2 separate regions of the Homo sapiens genome follow, and region 2 is linked to region 1. Evidence: promoter capture Hi-C in human tissues and cell types (Jung and others, 2019). All regions are on one chromosome and are shown on one strand. The core of a region is centred on a gene start or on the middle of the fragment in contact, and the rest is flanking DNA. Distances in the headings are between cores, read along the strand shown. Region 1 holds the start of SPATA31E1 (SPATA31 subfamily E member 1). Region 2 has its middle 48 kb from the start of LINC03026.

Region 1 (6,419 bases), core at 1,315-3,814:
AGGCCCCAGGTGGTGGCAGCCTCCCTCCAGCAATAGAGGTCCCAGATGGGATCGCTGGAGCACCCCAGGCCAGAGATCACCCTGGTTGGAGGAGGCAGCACCTGGTTGTGTAGAGGGGAGCTCTGGGGGACGGGGCATGTTGTGGAGCCACACTGAAGTCCAGCCAGGCTGGAGTCGGGTGGAGGTGGAGAGGAGGCCAGGGGACCATGCGGCTGTGGTGAAGGAGGAAAAACCACATGTGGCTGGGTTGCAGGGCATTTTAGGGGAAGCAAGGGCTCTGGTGGCCCGGAGGCACTCAGGGTTGAGTGTGGTCCAAAAGGCTCTGAGAAGGTCATCGGGCCTGGTGACAGGGTGGAGGCCAGAGGAGCTGGGGGAGCTGGTGGGGACAAGCTGGCAGGAGACGGATCTTGCATGCATTTCCCATGCGGCTGGTGGGCCTTAGCAGGCACTGGTTTACACACGTCCCCCAGGGGGTCTCCACCTAAGGGCAGGTGGGAGCTGCCTTCGCCAGCGAGCTTCCTCAGGTGGCTGCAGGAGACAAGAGGCACAAGCTGCAGCCAGGGGTAGATGGGGCCGGGAAGCTGGGACGGGTGGGCACCTGGGGCCCCCGGTTCCTCCACCTCCCCAACTGCTGACTTCATAAAGCTCTGCCTAAGCCTGCCCCAGGGCTTCAGTCCCCTCCTGTCCCCTTCCCGGGACCTCCCCCTCCCAGATCACCACCAGGCCGTAGGGTTGCATCAGAGGCCCTGGTAGGAAGGAGGACAGGGACAGAAGGGGGAAGCTCCTCACCTTTCCAGAAGGTAGTTCAGGTCCCGAGTCTCCTCCAGCTCCCTCAGGAGGATTCTGCAAGCTGGAAATCAGGAGACAGGGTTATGGTGGAGAGGGCGGTGCCTGGGAACCTCATGGAGGCTGAGTGGATGTCTTTTTAGGGGACACCATGGGGGACTAGACCCTGAAGCCCTCGCATCTGTGTCCGAGGCCACATGGCCCCAATGGTGACAGGAAGGTTTCCACTGTGCAGCACTTTGTCATTTGCAAAAAGTGCTTCCACGTCCACCCCCTCATCGGTGTCACAACCATCTTGTTGGGAGAGCAAATGGGTGGTCTCAAAGAGGAGTCAGCCATTGCTGAGGTGAACAGCTGTCCACATGGACCTGGAGCCTCCCTGACCTCCCCCCATATCCAGGCAGGCCTTGGTCCCTTCCCCACACCGCCCCCTTATGGGCAATACCGGTCCCAGGCCCGTGGCTTCATTCCCGCAGGGAATCTGAGGAGGCCGCAGGTTCTGATTTCTCTCCCAGGAGCTTCCCTCTCAGGCCTCTGCAAATGACTTCCTCAGGGACAGGCAAAGCTCAGTTACCTCTGGGGAGTCCCGGGGGGCAGCAGAGCCTCACCTTTCAGAGCTGAGATCTTCCTGCTCCTGGACCTCCCGCTTCTCTCCCTTTGAGGCTGAGAGGCAAGAAAGGATGAGGGGCTGGGACCAGTTCTCAGTCTCCTCTCCCCAGACCAGCTGCACACACGCAGTGCTCATGAGGGACACGGCTCTCAGCCTCTAGCTCAGGGAGCTCTGTGTGTGCTTTTTACTCATGTTTACCGTGAATGAAATGTTTTCTGTTTTCCTTCTTAGGGAAATGCAAGGAAGGGTTGTCTGTGTGACTCCAACCTGGCTGTCCCCAGTCCCTGCTCCTCCGCTCAAGGAACACCTAGGCTCAGGCCCACAGGCGCCTCTGAGCTGCCAGTAGGATTCTGCTTTGGATGAGAATGGAGAGGAGGCCAGGGTACCATGGGGCTGTGGTGAAGGAGGAAAAAGCACATGTGGCCGGGGTGCAGCCACAGGCGAATCCAGGCTCTACTGGGAGGCTCTCAGGAGCTCAGCACAGCTCCCAGATCACACCCAGATCATACAGAGGAGGCTGGGCCCCCAGGCACCTGCCCCAGGAAGGGGGTGATGAGCCAGGGCTGGGGCCTCTCCTCCCACAGAGACCTCACCCCTCTCCTGACCCGGTCCTTGCCACTGAGTCCAGTGTTGGTTTTTGCCCTGACGCCTCCTGTGCACCCCACAGATGAGCTCGGGATGGAATCCTCTGCCCACTCTCACCCCTGCCTGCCTTGCCCTTCCCTAGAGGGATGACGAGATTTCCCATCACAGAAGGGTCTCACATTGCTTAGGAAAAGTGGAAATGAGGGGAGGAAAAGAAGAGAGAATCTTTCTCTGTGGGGCTGGGCTGAGGACTCCTTACCTCCCTGCTGCTCCTCTTCCTCCCGGGCGGGGGTGAGGGTGGGTCACTGTGGACGTAGAGGAGCAATAGGAAGAGGAGCACTAGGCCACACACACTGGTGAGGATGAAATCCATCATCCAGGGAGTGGAGCTAGGGCTCAGCCATGTGGCACTAGGGCTCTTCAGAGGAAAGAGCATTTTCTCCATCTGAAGTGCAATGTCGTCTCCTGTGCACTCCACAGATGGTCTGGGAGCTGGGGGTGGAATCCTCTGCCCACTCTCAACCCTGCCTGCCCTGCCCTTCCCTAGAGGGATGACGAGATTTCCCATCGCCTTCAAGCAACTGAGCTCTGGGCATCCCCTTTGGGACTAGGGACTGGGGCCCAGGCTTGTATCACACAGCTGGGGCCTCCTCCTCACAAAGGGCTCCTGGGGGTGGGGGAGGGGCAGTGGGAGGAGGAGGCTGAAGCACAGCCCCGCCCTCAGCTCCCAGCCCCCAGTCCCTCCACCCTCCTGGGTCCCCCAAATCGCTCCTTCCCACTCCAGCTGCTCACCCTGTCAGAGACAGTCCTCAGTCCATTTTCTATTCTCTTCCCCTGGAACACAGGTGTCACCTGGCTCTCCTTGTACCTTGGAGATCTAGGCCTGAGCCCACCCATTTCATAGCCTTTGAAACTGTGAAATTCTCCTAGGAATTTAGGTGGTTTCTTAAGGATTATTTCAGAATCTCCTCTGTTTTTGTAATTTTCCCACACCTTACATTTTCTACTTTCATCAACCCAGAATAGAACTCTTAAATTTACAAAACTAAAAAGTATAAAAATTACAAATAATTAAACCTCCAAATGACATTTTTATATTAGGAACATAATTTTGAGTTACCGAATTATGGAGCTTGCTGTAAAAAAACCTCAAACACTTTGACAAATTATTTTCAAAACAATAATTAAGCCTTTACTTATTTTCTTTAGATCTTTCATATGTTGTCCTGATCCATTTTTTCTTTCTCTGCCCCAAATACAGTCCTCACTTTCCTAAGTTTTGGAACATGTGTGCTCCACCATGAGCCAGGAGTGGTTTGGGGTGATCTGAGGTCCAGCTCCTTTGGGTGGAGAGCGGGACTGGGCATTCCGTGCCAGGCTCAAGTCCAGTGTTCAGCAGACTCTTCTGAGATCACTCGTGTCCTCCGTACATATTCTTTTTTTTTTTTTTTTTGAAACGGAGTCTCACTCTGTTGCCCAGGCTGGAGTGCAGTGGCATGATCTCGGCTCACTGCAACCTCTGCCTCCTGGGTTCAAGCGATTCTCCTGCCTCAGCCTCCCAAGTAGCTGGGACTACAGAAGTGTGCCACCATGCCCAGCTAATTTTTGTATCTTTAGTAGAGACCAGGTTTCACCATAGTGGCCAGGCTGGTCCTGAACTCCTGAGCTTGTGATCCGCCCGCCTCGGCCTCCCATTTGTATTCTCTGCTCCACAGTGTGTCCTGTTTTTCACCTCCTGCCTGCTCCAGACCACTGGGGCCTCATGTCTGGCCTGTACCTGATAGGGAGCATACTTTGAGCCCTGGAGGAAATGTTCTCATTATACTATTAGACATCTTTTGGGCAGCAGAAACTCAGGATTAGAGATTGCACTTTTTAATCACTATGTGATACATTTATTTAATACTTGAAAAGTGGCCTTGAAAATCATGTATATCTTTGTCATGCGTTCTATATAGCCTCAATGGGAGTGAGACCATCTGAGTCTATTTGGGTCTGTTCTCATGAACATGCATCTTCAAGAGCATATCTGCTTCATCTACTGCTGCTTTTATCTGTCTACAGTCTCTTCCTCCTTTATGAGATTGTCACTGGGGAGGCATGACAGTCCCTAATGTGGTCAACTGGGTTAACTGGCAAGAGTGGAGACCCCAGTGACGCCTGCTAGGATCACTGGGAAGTATGGGGGTCCTAAGTTCTACTTCATTTGCAGGGAACTGAAGCCTGAGAAGTGGGTCTCATCTTGACCTATGCAATTGGGCTTGGGCATGCAAGGAATCGCCTCCCAACAAGCCACTGCCAGGTCAGTAGGTGCGCTCTGTGTGAGAAACAGGAACTGGAGAGCAGAGACAACTGGTCGCATCAGCTCCACATTTAGGGAAAAGATTTGTTTTAGGTTCCATTCCTCCTCAAACCTGATGTTCGCCTTTCTGGATAAATGAGAGGACCATGTGGGTGTGGGGGTTCCCAGTCTCTGGTGGGCTGTGTGCATGTCTCCATCCATGCACCTCTGTTCCCTCCACAGACTTCACTGCAGGGTTATGCTGTTCATCCAACCATCCACCCACCTGCCTGCTGCAACGAGGGCGAGGCTTCCCAGTGCCAGCCCCTTGCTCCTGCTGCTGCAGGGGAAATGAGCCTCAAGGCCCTTCCTTGACAAACCCCCCCCCCGCCCCGCCAACCACACACACTTCCAGACACTGTGGTGCCCACAACAGAACCCTGGGGGCTTTTGAGGGACACCACACCTACCTCGGAAGAACTGGGCCTCTCATCTCACCTGGGCGAACCTGGGTGCCTTTTGCCTTCCTGCCTTTGTCAGTCCGTATTTTACTACAGCCAATTGCTGTTCCTCATGGTGACTGTAGAACCCTCCTTCCCGCATACCACAAGCCCCTGGTCCTCAGGCATCTCCAGGGTCCTGGGAGTCTTCCTGGGCTCTGGTGTGGACTGGAGTCACAGCTTTGGTCTCACTCCACGTTTCCTGCAGGGAAGCAGAGGAAAGGGGAAGAATTCCTTAGAAAATGAGAGTGAATTTCTCTTAGGAAGAACAGCTTTTCCCCCCATAGTCTCTGATCATCCTTAAGTATTTAAAACAAACAAATACACCCACACAGGCATTTCCCATCGTGAAGCTTAACTTCCTGCAAATATCTCTCATGTTGCATACACGTGAAATTCGTGCACCTCAGCTGCACAGCCTTATCATAGTCAATGTCTGAATGTCTCAGTAGAGACCTTGAGGTACATTTCAGTGTGTTTTCATTGTCAGCCTTTGTGGACCCCTGTGCGCTCCTGCTTCCCTAATTTCCGCATGAGGAAAACGGATGGGGGAATACGGGCTGGCAGGGGAGTGCTGCGAGTGTGCATCTGGTGGGCAAGAAAAAATGATCATCCTGCTGACAGTCTTCCTTTGGACTTCATAGTTAATCTAGAAATCTACTTGAAGAACAGTGGAAACAGTACAGATTATTGATTCTATGAACCCTTTGGTACACATAAATGCTTAGGCATCCAAATTTTATAGTTATTATGCAATTATACATACGGATTATAGGAAGACAATTTTTTATATGATAAAAAAGATAATCTTAGTTATACCAACAGAGTTCTTGGATAAATTGTTCTTGTTGACTGGGCGCAGTGGCTCACGCCTGTAATCCTAGCACTCTGGGAGGTTGAGGTGGGTGGATCACCTGAGGTCAGGAGTTTGAGACCAGCCTGGCCAACATAGTGAAACCCTGTCTCTACTAAAAATACAAAAATTAGCCAGGCGTGGTGGTAGGCGCCTGTAATCCCAGCTACTCTGGAGGCTGAGGCAGGAGAATTGCTTGAGCCTGGGAGGCGGAGGGTGCAGTGAGCCAAGATTGTGCCACCTCACTCCAGTCTGGTGGACAGAGTAAATTTATTTCCAATTTATACATATTTTCTATCACAGAAGAATTTGCTGCATAGTTAACTCAGTAATCACCAAAATCAAACAAATGCATCCTTAATTAGTTGAACAAAGATCTTTTATTGGAGCTATAACTCAAACTCAAGGCTACTGTATTGCCAAATAGCAAGTGGCTTAGGTGGAACTAAGAAACAGGAGCATAGCAAGGAAACTGGTGGTTACAGTGGGAAGTTATTTATTCACTTTATATTTACTTATGCAGCACTTATGAAGGATCAAGTACAGTGCTAAGTACCTTTAAAATGCAAATCTTCGAATACTTAAATAATAAAAGCTGAAGCTTGGCATAAATAATGTATAACTGTAGGGTCTGAAGCACAAAGGGGCATCACTAGCATGTCTGGAAAATAGAATTACTGTTAGGCATGAGTCAAACTGTAGCTCTGCATTTTGATGAATCATTCTTACTGGCAAGTTCCTACTGCATTACTTTTCACCAAAACACATTGTGCACTTACCATTTCTGAAGAGGCCATGCATATC
Region 2 (6,419 bases), core at 2,463-4,962, 150 kb before region 1:
TGCAAGAGCATGTTCTTCAACCATTTTTAAGCATGGAGTTTTCCTTTCCTTTGAGTTCATAGTCCTCAGTAACTAGAGCTACTTAATATGTACATATGCAGGCAGGAAACCTGATGCAGAAGGGTCTTATAAATGCACTTATGAACCTGGGCAAGTTGCTGTGTCAAAATATGCACAGTCTAACCTCTGGCTGAGTTAGCTACAACCAATAAACAGTAGATCCATGCAATTTTTATTTGGGAGTTATCTTTATAAAATCACAGACAGAACTAAGAAGTCACGAATGTGAAAAGGCACAGGAAATGTAAATGAGTGAACAGAGCAAATCAGACAAGAAGGATGGAGGTAAGAGGGTAACAGGGAAACAGGGAGGTAAAGAGGGTAACAGGGAAATGAATGTGAGGATCAGACACTTTCTTCATCATTGAAATGGTCAGAACAGGGCTTTGGACCTAGGCAAAGCCTCCATGCCGGTGGTTCCCAAATTTCAGCATGAATCAGAATCCCCTGGAGGCAGAGCTGCCAGATACAATACAGAACCCCAGGCCGGGCGCGGTGACTCATGCCTGTAATCCCAGCACTCTGGGAGGCCGAGGTGGGTGGATCACGAGGTCAGGAGTTCAAGACTAGCCTGGCCAAGATAGTGAAACCCTGTCTCTACTAAAAATACAAAAATTAGCCGGACGTGGTGGCATGTGCCTGTAATCCCCGCTATTCGGGAGGCTGAGGCAGGAGAATCACTTGAACCTGGGAGGTGGAGGTTGCAGTGAGCCAAGATCACGCCACTGCACTTCAGCCTAGGCGAAAGAGAGAGACTCTGTCTAAAAAACAAACAAACAAACAAACAAAACAGTACCCCAGCTAAAGGTGAATTTCAGTTAAACAACAAATCATTTTAGTATTAAACATGTCCCATGCAATAATTGAGACATACTCATATTAAAAAATGATGTCACTTATCTAAAATGAAATGTAACTGTGTGTCTTGCATTTTTGCTCTACCTACACAGAGGTTCAAATACTGATTGCTGTGCCCACACCCAGAGTTCTTGATTCAGTGGATCTGGGATGGGGCCCAAGAATCTGCATTTTTTGAGACAGGATCTCAGCTCCGTTGCCCAGGTTGGAGTGCAGTGGCACAATCACGGCTCACTGCAGCCTCGATCTCCTGGGCTCAAGTGATCCTCCCGCCTCAGCCTCCCAAAATGTTGGGATTATAAGCATGGTCCATGGCACCTGGCCAAGAATCTGCATTTCTGATACTTTTCCAGCTGACGGCGATGCTGCTGTGTGAGGATGCCCTTTGAGAATCCCTGCTACAAAGCCCCTGCCAGTGGAGTGGCATTGCTGTGTGGTGGCCTTGCACTGCGGATTGCCCACCGGAGGGATGCTGTGTGAGCACTGGCTGTGTCACCCTGCCACTGTGTCTCTGCTTCCCTGGAAACATGCGTTTCTCCACTTTCAGGCAGAAGCACCAACTGCTCCTGTGAATTAATATGCTCATTTAATGCTCATTACATTTAAATTTTGTCATTGAAAGGGCTCATTTTCCCATACTGGACCGTGGCCCTCTCCCTGCTCACTTCTTTAGAATAAAGAAGAGCATGAGGCTGGTGAAGGGGACTGATGCATTATTGCACTGGCTCTGTCTGTGGTGACAGGCTCACAAAAATACTGTCACCATGGTATTTCTCAGCATTTGCTACATAGGAGGTTTTTCATACTTCAGGAAACATATTTACCATTTTAAAACCAAAGACATCAGGGTCCCATCAACATCTGTGATTTAGCTGTTACTAAACATTGTAAATCTATCAGTGTCTTGTTCCTTGGAAGTAGAACACCTACCACTGGACTCCCTTTACTCTAATTAACCAAAGGCACCCCACATGAGTGGTTAATAACTGGTTGGGCTTTGTCCCCTTCAGAGGGGACACACATGGTATAGTTGCCAAGTCCTGGACTCACTTTCTGACAAAAGCTTTTCCAAGATGCTCCTGGCTGGAAGCCGTGTGTGTCAGTTTGCTATGGCAGATAATACTCTGTCCTCTGGACACCCGAAATTCGTGTGTTGAAGTCCCAACCACCAGCGTCTCAGAATGTGACTGTATTTGGAGGCAGGGTCTTTAAAGAGATAACAGGCCAGGCGTGGTGGCTCCCACCTGTAATTGCAACACTTTGGGAGGCCAAGGCGGGCAGATCACCTGAGGTCAGGAGTTCGAAACCAGCCTGGCCAACATGGAGAAACCCTGCCTGTACTAAAACTACAAAAATTATCTGGGTGTGGTGGCGCATGCCTGTAGTCCCAGCTACTTAGGAGGCTGAGGCAGGAGAATTGCTTAAACCCGGGAGGGAGAGGTTGCAGTGAGCCACTACACTCCAGCCTGGGTGACACAGTGAGACTCTGTCTCAAAATAAATACATAAATTAATTAATTAATTAAAATAAAAAATAAAGAGGTAACTAAGGTTAACTGAGGTCCTTAAGGTGGAACCTAATCCAATATGACTGGTGTTCCTTATCAGAAGAGGAGATGAGGACACAGGGCAAGGACGCCCATCTGCAAAGCTAAGGAGAGAGGACTCAGGAAAGAACAACACCGCAGATGCCTTGATCTCAGACTTCCGGGCTCCAGAATTGTGGGAAAACAAATTTCTGTTGTTTAAGCTGTCCAGTCTGTGATACAGAAAGCCCTCACTTAACATTGTCAGTAAGTTCTTGGAAACTAACTTTAAGTGAAATGATGTATAACAAAATCAATTTTCTAATCAATAGGCTAATTGATATAAACAAGAGTTAAGTTCCTACAGCACGCTTCTCCCTTTGCAGGGCGCACTCACACACATGCCCACCCTCACTCACCTTGGGACCACGTAGACACATCAGTTCACCTAATGGGCACAATCATGGGATCAAGGAGGAAACGAGAGCACCCAGAAAAAACCCACACAGACATGGGGAGAACATGCAGACAGACTCCAACACAGGTAGTGGCCCCAGGTGAGGATTATTCTTTTCTCATCGACCTTATAATAAAGACCTGTTGAGGCCAGGGGAGGTGGCTCATGGATATAATCCTAGCACTTTGGGAGGCTGAGGCAGTAGGATCGCTTCAGCACAGGAGTTTGAGACCAGACTGGGCAACACAGGAAGACTCCAGTCTCTACAAAAAATATTTTTTAAAAATTAGCCAGAAATAGTGGCAGGGGCCTGTTGTCCCAGCTGCTTGGGAGGCTGAGACGGAGGAAGATCACTTGAGCCATGATTGTGCCACTGCACTTCAGTCTGGGCAACAGAGCAAGACCCTGTCTCAAAATAAATAAAAACAAAATGACCTTATTCTAGGACCTGCTGTACTTTGTTACAATAGCCCAAGCAAACTGAGACACCATGTAAATGCCAGTTTTCCTTTACAATAAAGACAATAGTGCACGTACCCCAGATGTGACAACTGTAGGATTCCATTTGAAAGAGCAGGCAGGCTGGGTATGGTGGCTCATGCCTGTAATCCCAGCACTTTGGGAGGCCGAGGTGGGCAGATCATGAGGTCAGGAGTTCAAGACCAGCCTGGCCAACATGGTGAAACCCCATCTCTATTAAAAATACAAAAATTAGCTGGGCGTGGTGGCGGGCACCTGTAGTCTCAGCTACTCAGTAGGCTGAGGCAGGAGAATAGCTGGAATCTGGGAGGCAGAGGTTGCAGTGAGCCGAGATGGTGCCACTGCACTCCAGCCTGGGTGACAGAGCAACTCTGCTCAAAGAAAAAAACGAAAGAAAGAAAGAGCAGGCAATTTTCACCTTACAGTAACCTATGATTGAGGATCTCAGTTGCCCCTCTCAATAGGTTTTCCTGTTTTATCCTTCAGTTCTTCTCTGCCCCTGGCTGGAGACCAGACATAAGCACAAATCTGAAGGTTGAGCCCTGGGGTGGAGGACAGGAACCATTTTCTCACTACCACCACCCTCTGTGAGCTACCACTTGCTTCTGCCAAGAATCATCCTTACAATGAGCTCCTTCCTTACTCATTATTTTTCTTCTTCCTTGCAACACGCAGAATTTATCTCTCCTCATCTTGATGTTGATGAAAGGCAATATTCTTTGCTAATTTAAAGTGTGATGAAACATACAGAAGAAAACAAGATTTCTGATAAACACTTTTTGCTAATTAAGTATTTGGAAATCTGCTTGTACCAAAATAATATGACATTCCTCCCTGTGCCCTCCCTGTGCCTTTTATTTCCTCTAATAGAATTGTTTTCCTCCACACAGAGGTTCTCTTTTTTTTTTTTTTTTTCAGATGGAGTCTCACTCTGTTGCCAGGCTGGAGTGCAGTGGTGCTATCTCGGCTCACTGCAACCTCCGCCTCCTGGGTTCAAGCGATTCTCTTGCCTCAGCCTCCCGAGTAGCTGGGATTACAGGCACCCGCCACCGTGCCCAGCTAATTTTTTATTTTTAGTAGAGACAGTGTTTCACCATGTTGGCCGGGATGGTCCCGATCTCTTGATCTCGTGATCTGCCTGCCTCGGCCTCCCAAAGTGCTGGGATTCCAGGCAAGAGCCACTGCTTCCGGCCAACAGAGGTGCATTCTAGATCTTTAATTTCTCCACCTCACTTGGAAGATTGCTAGAAATCACAAATAAAGTTTGTAATGTAGTTATATAGCTTTCACTGAACATTTTAAATACTTGAACAAAAAATTCATGACGATTACACATAACCAAGCCCATCCCAAACTTTTTGAAGACTTCATATGTCAATCCCCCGATAGTTAATAAATACTGTATTTTTTCATGACTCCCACTCTTAATCATCATACTGACTCATACCACTCAAAACTGCAGTTTAATTATATTAGTTTTCTCTAATATAAAATTAGTTACATATTTAATTAACTTCCTTTCTCCCAAAATAGCAACCATCCTCTTTGATTAACCTGGCTGAGTCATGCAAAACCTTATGCTTATCTTGCTGTCAATTACAAGCATATTTTAGTTTTAAGCAGAAATAGCTTACATTGTACCATGCAAAAATTACGGTGTTAGGGCCGAGCGCTGTGGTTCATGCCTGTAATCCCAGCACTTTGGGAGGCCGAGGTGGGTGGATCACCTGAGGTAAGGAGTTCAAGACCAGCCTGGTCAACATGGTGAAACCCTGACTCTACTAAAATACAAAAATTAGCCGGGCATGATGGCGGGTGCCTGTATTCCCAGCTACTTGAGAGGCTGAGACGGGAGAATCTCTTGAACCTGGGAGATGTTGGTTGCGGCGAGCTGAGATCACGCCACCGCACTCCAGCCTGGGCAGCTGAGTGAGACTCCATCTCAAAAAAAAAAAAGAAAAAGAAAATTACGGAGTTAGGAGGAAGGATGGCATATGGTTAGGAAACTAATTTCACAAGTAAATGGATCCTCTATTGACTTTGACAGACAAAATGTAAGAACAAGAATGCAAAAGTAAGACCTTTTTTTTTTTTTTGAGATGGAGTTTCGCTCTTGTTGCCCAGGCTGGAGTGCAATGGCAAGATCTCGGCTCACTGCAACCTCCTCCTCCTGGGTTCAAGTGATTCTCCTGCCTCAGCCTCCTGAGTAGCTGGGATTACAAGGCATGTGCCACCACACCGGCTAATTTTGTATTTTTAGTAGAGACTGGTCTCAAACTCCCACCGTCAGGTGATCCACCCGCTTTGGCCTCCCAAAGTGCTGGAATTACAGGCATGAGCCACTGTGCTTGGCAGTAAGACTCTTATATTCCTAGACTTTTTTTGTATGTATGAATCACTTTGGTACCAAAAGGTCCTTTATTTGATAAAGACAGTTCATGACTGCTTTATTCATTACCAGTTTATTTCATTTAAAATTTTATTACTTTTGGAATCTGGATGTCACAGACAAGGTTGGGTGATAACAATTTAAGGTTAGAGTCCTCCTGCAAGGACAAGGATGTCAATAAGAGGTGAGGAGGGTTCCAGGCACATTGCTGCCCACATAAAAGAGCAAGCTAGGACCCAGGCGCGGTGGCTCACACCTGTAATCCCAGCACTTTGGGAGGCCGAGGCAGGTGGACCATGAGGTCAGGAGATCGAGACCATCCTGGCTAACACAGTGAAACCCCATCTCTACAACAAAATACAAAAAAAAAAAACAAATGAGCCAGGCGTGGTGGTGGGCACCTGTAGTCCCAGCTACTCGAGAGGCTGAGGCAGGAGAATCTGTTGAACCTGGGAGGCAGAGGTTGCACTGAGCCGAGACTGTGCCACTGCACTCCGGCCTGGGCAATAGAGCGAGACTCCGTCTCAAAAAAATAAATAAATAAAAATAAGAATACCAGCTTTTTAAAGGAAAAATCATTTAGGACCAAGGTCTAAAAGCAATTCTTTGGGAGTGTGTGTCCTAACAGAGCAGACCCTGAGTACTGAAAC

The links. Contacts are between HindIII fragments. The study calls those that stand out against the background at their distance.
Region 2: a fragment that was not itself captured here is called in contact with the fragment with the promoter of SPATA31E1 in region 1 in 1 of the 25 tissues and cell types used here (H1 embryonic stem cells).

Annotation. Positions count from the first base shown.
Region 1 is chr9:87,879,022-87,885,440 of GRCh38, reverse strand. It overlaps SPATA31E1 (SPATA31 subfamily E member 1), which reads right to left and starts at 2,564. Exons shown (of 4, transcript NM_178828.5): 1 at 2,241-2,564; 2 at 1,395-1,449; 3 at 790-850; 4 at 1-528. The coding sequence starts at 2,549. All of the region lies in intron 3 of LOC497256 (a long non-coding RNA gene), which reads left to right. The HindIII fragment of the contact is 13,080 bases long and covers 1-5,666 here.
Region 2 is chr9:88,026,952-88,033,370 of GRCh38, reverse strand. No RefSeq gene overlaps it. Among named protein-coding and RNA genes, the nearest start is that of LINC03026, 48 kb to the left of the region's middle. The HindIII fragment of the contact is 6,094 bases long and covers 666-6,419 here.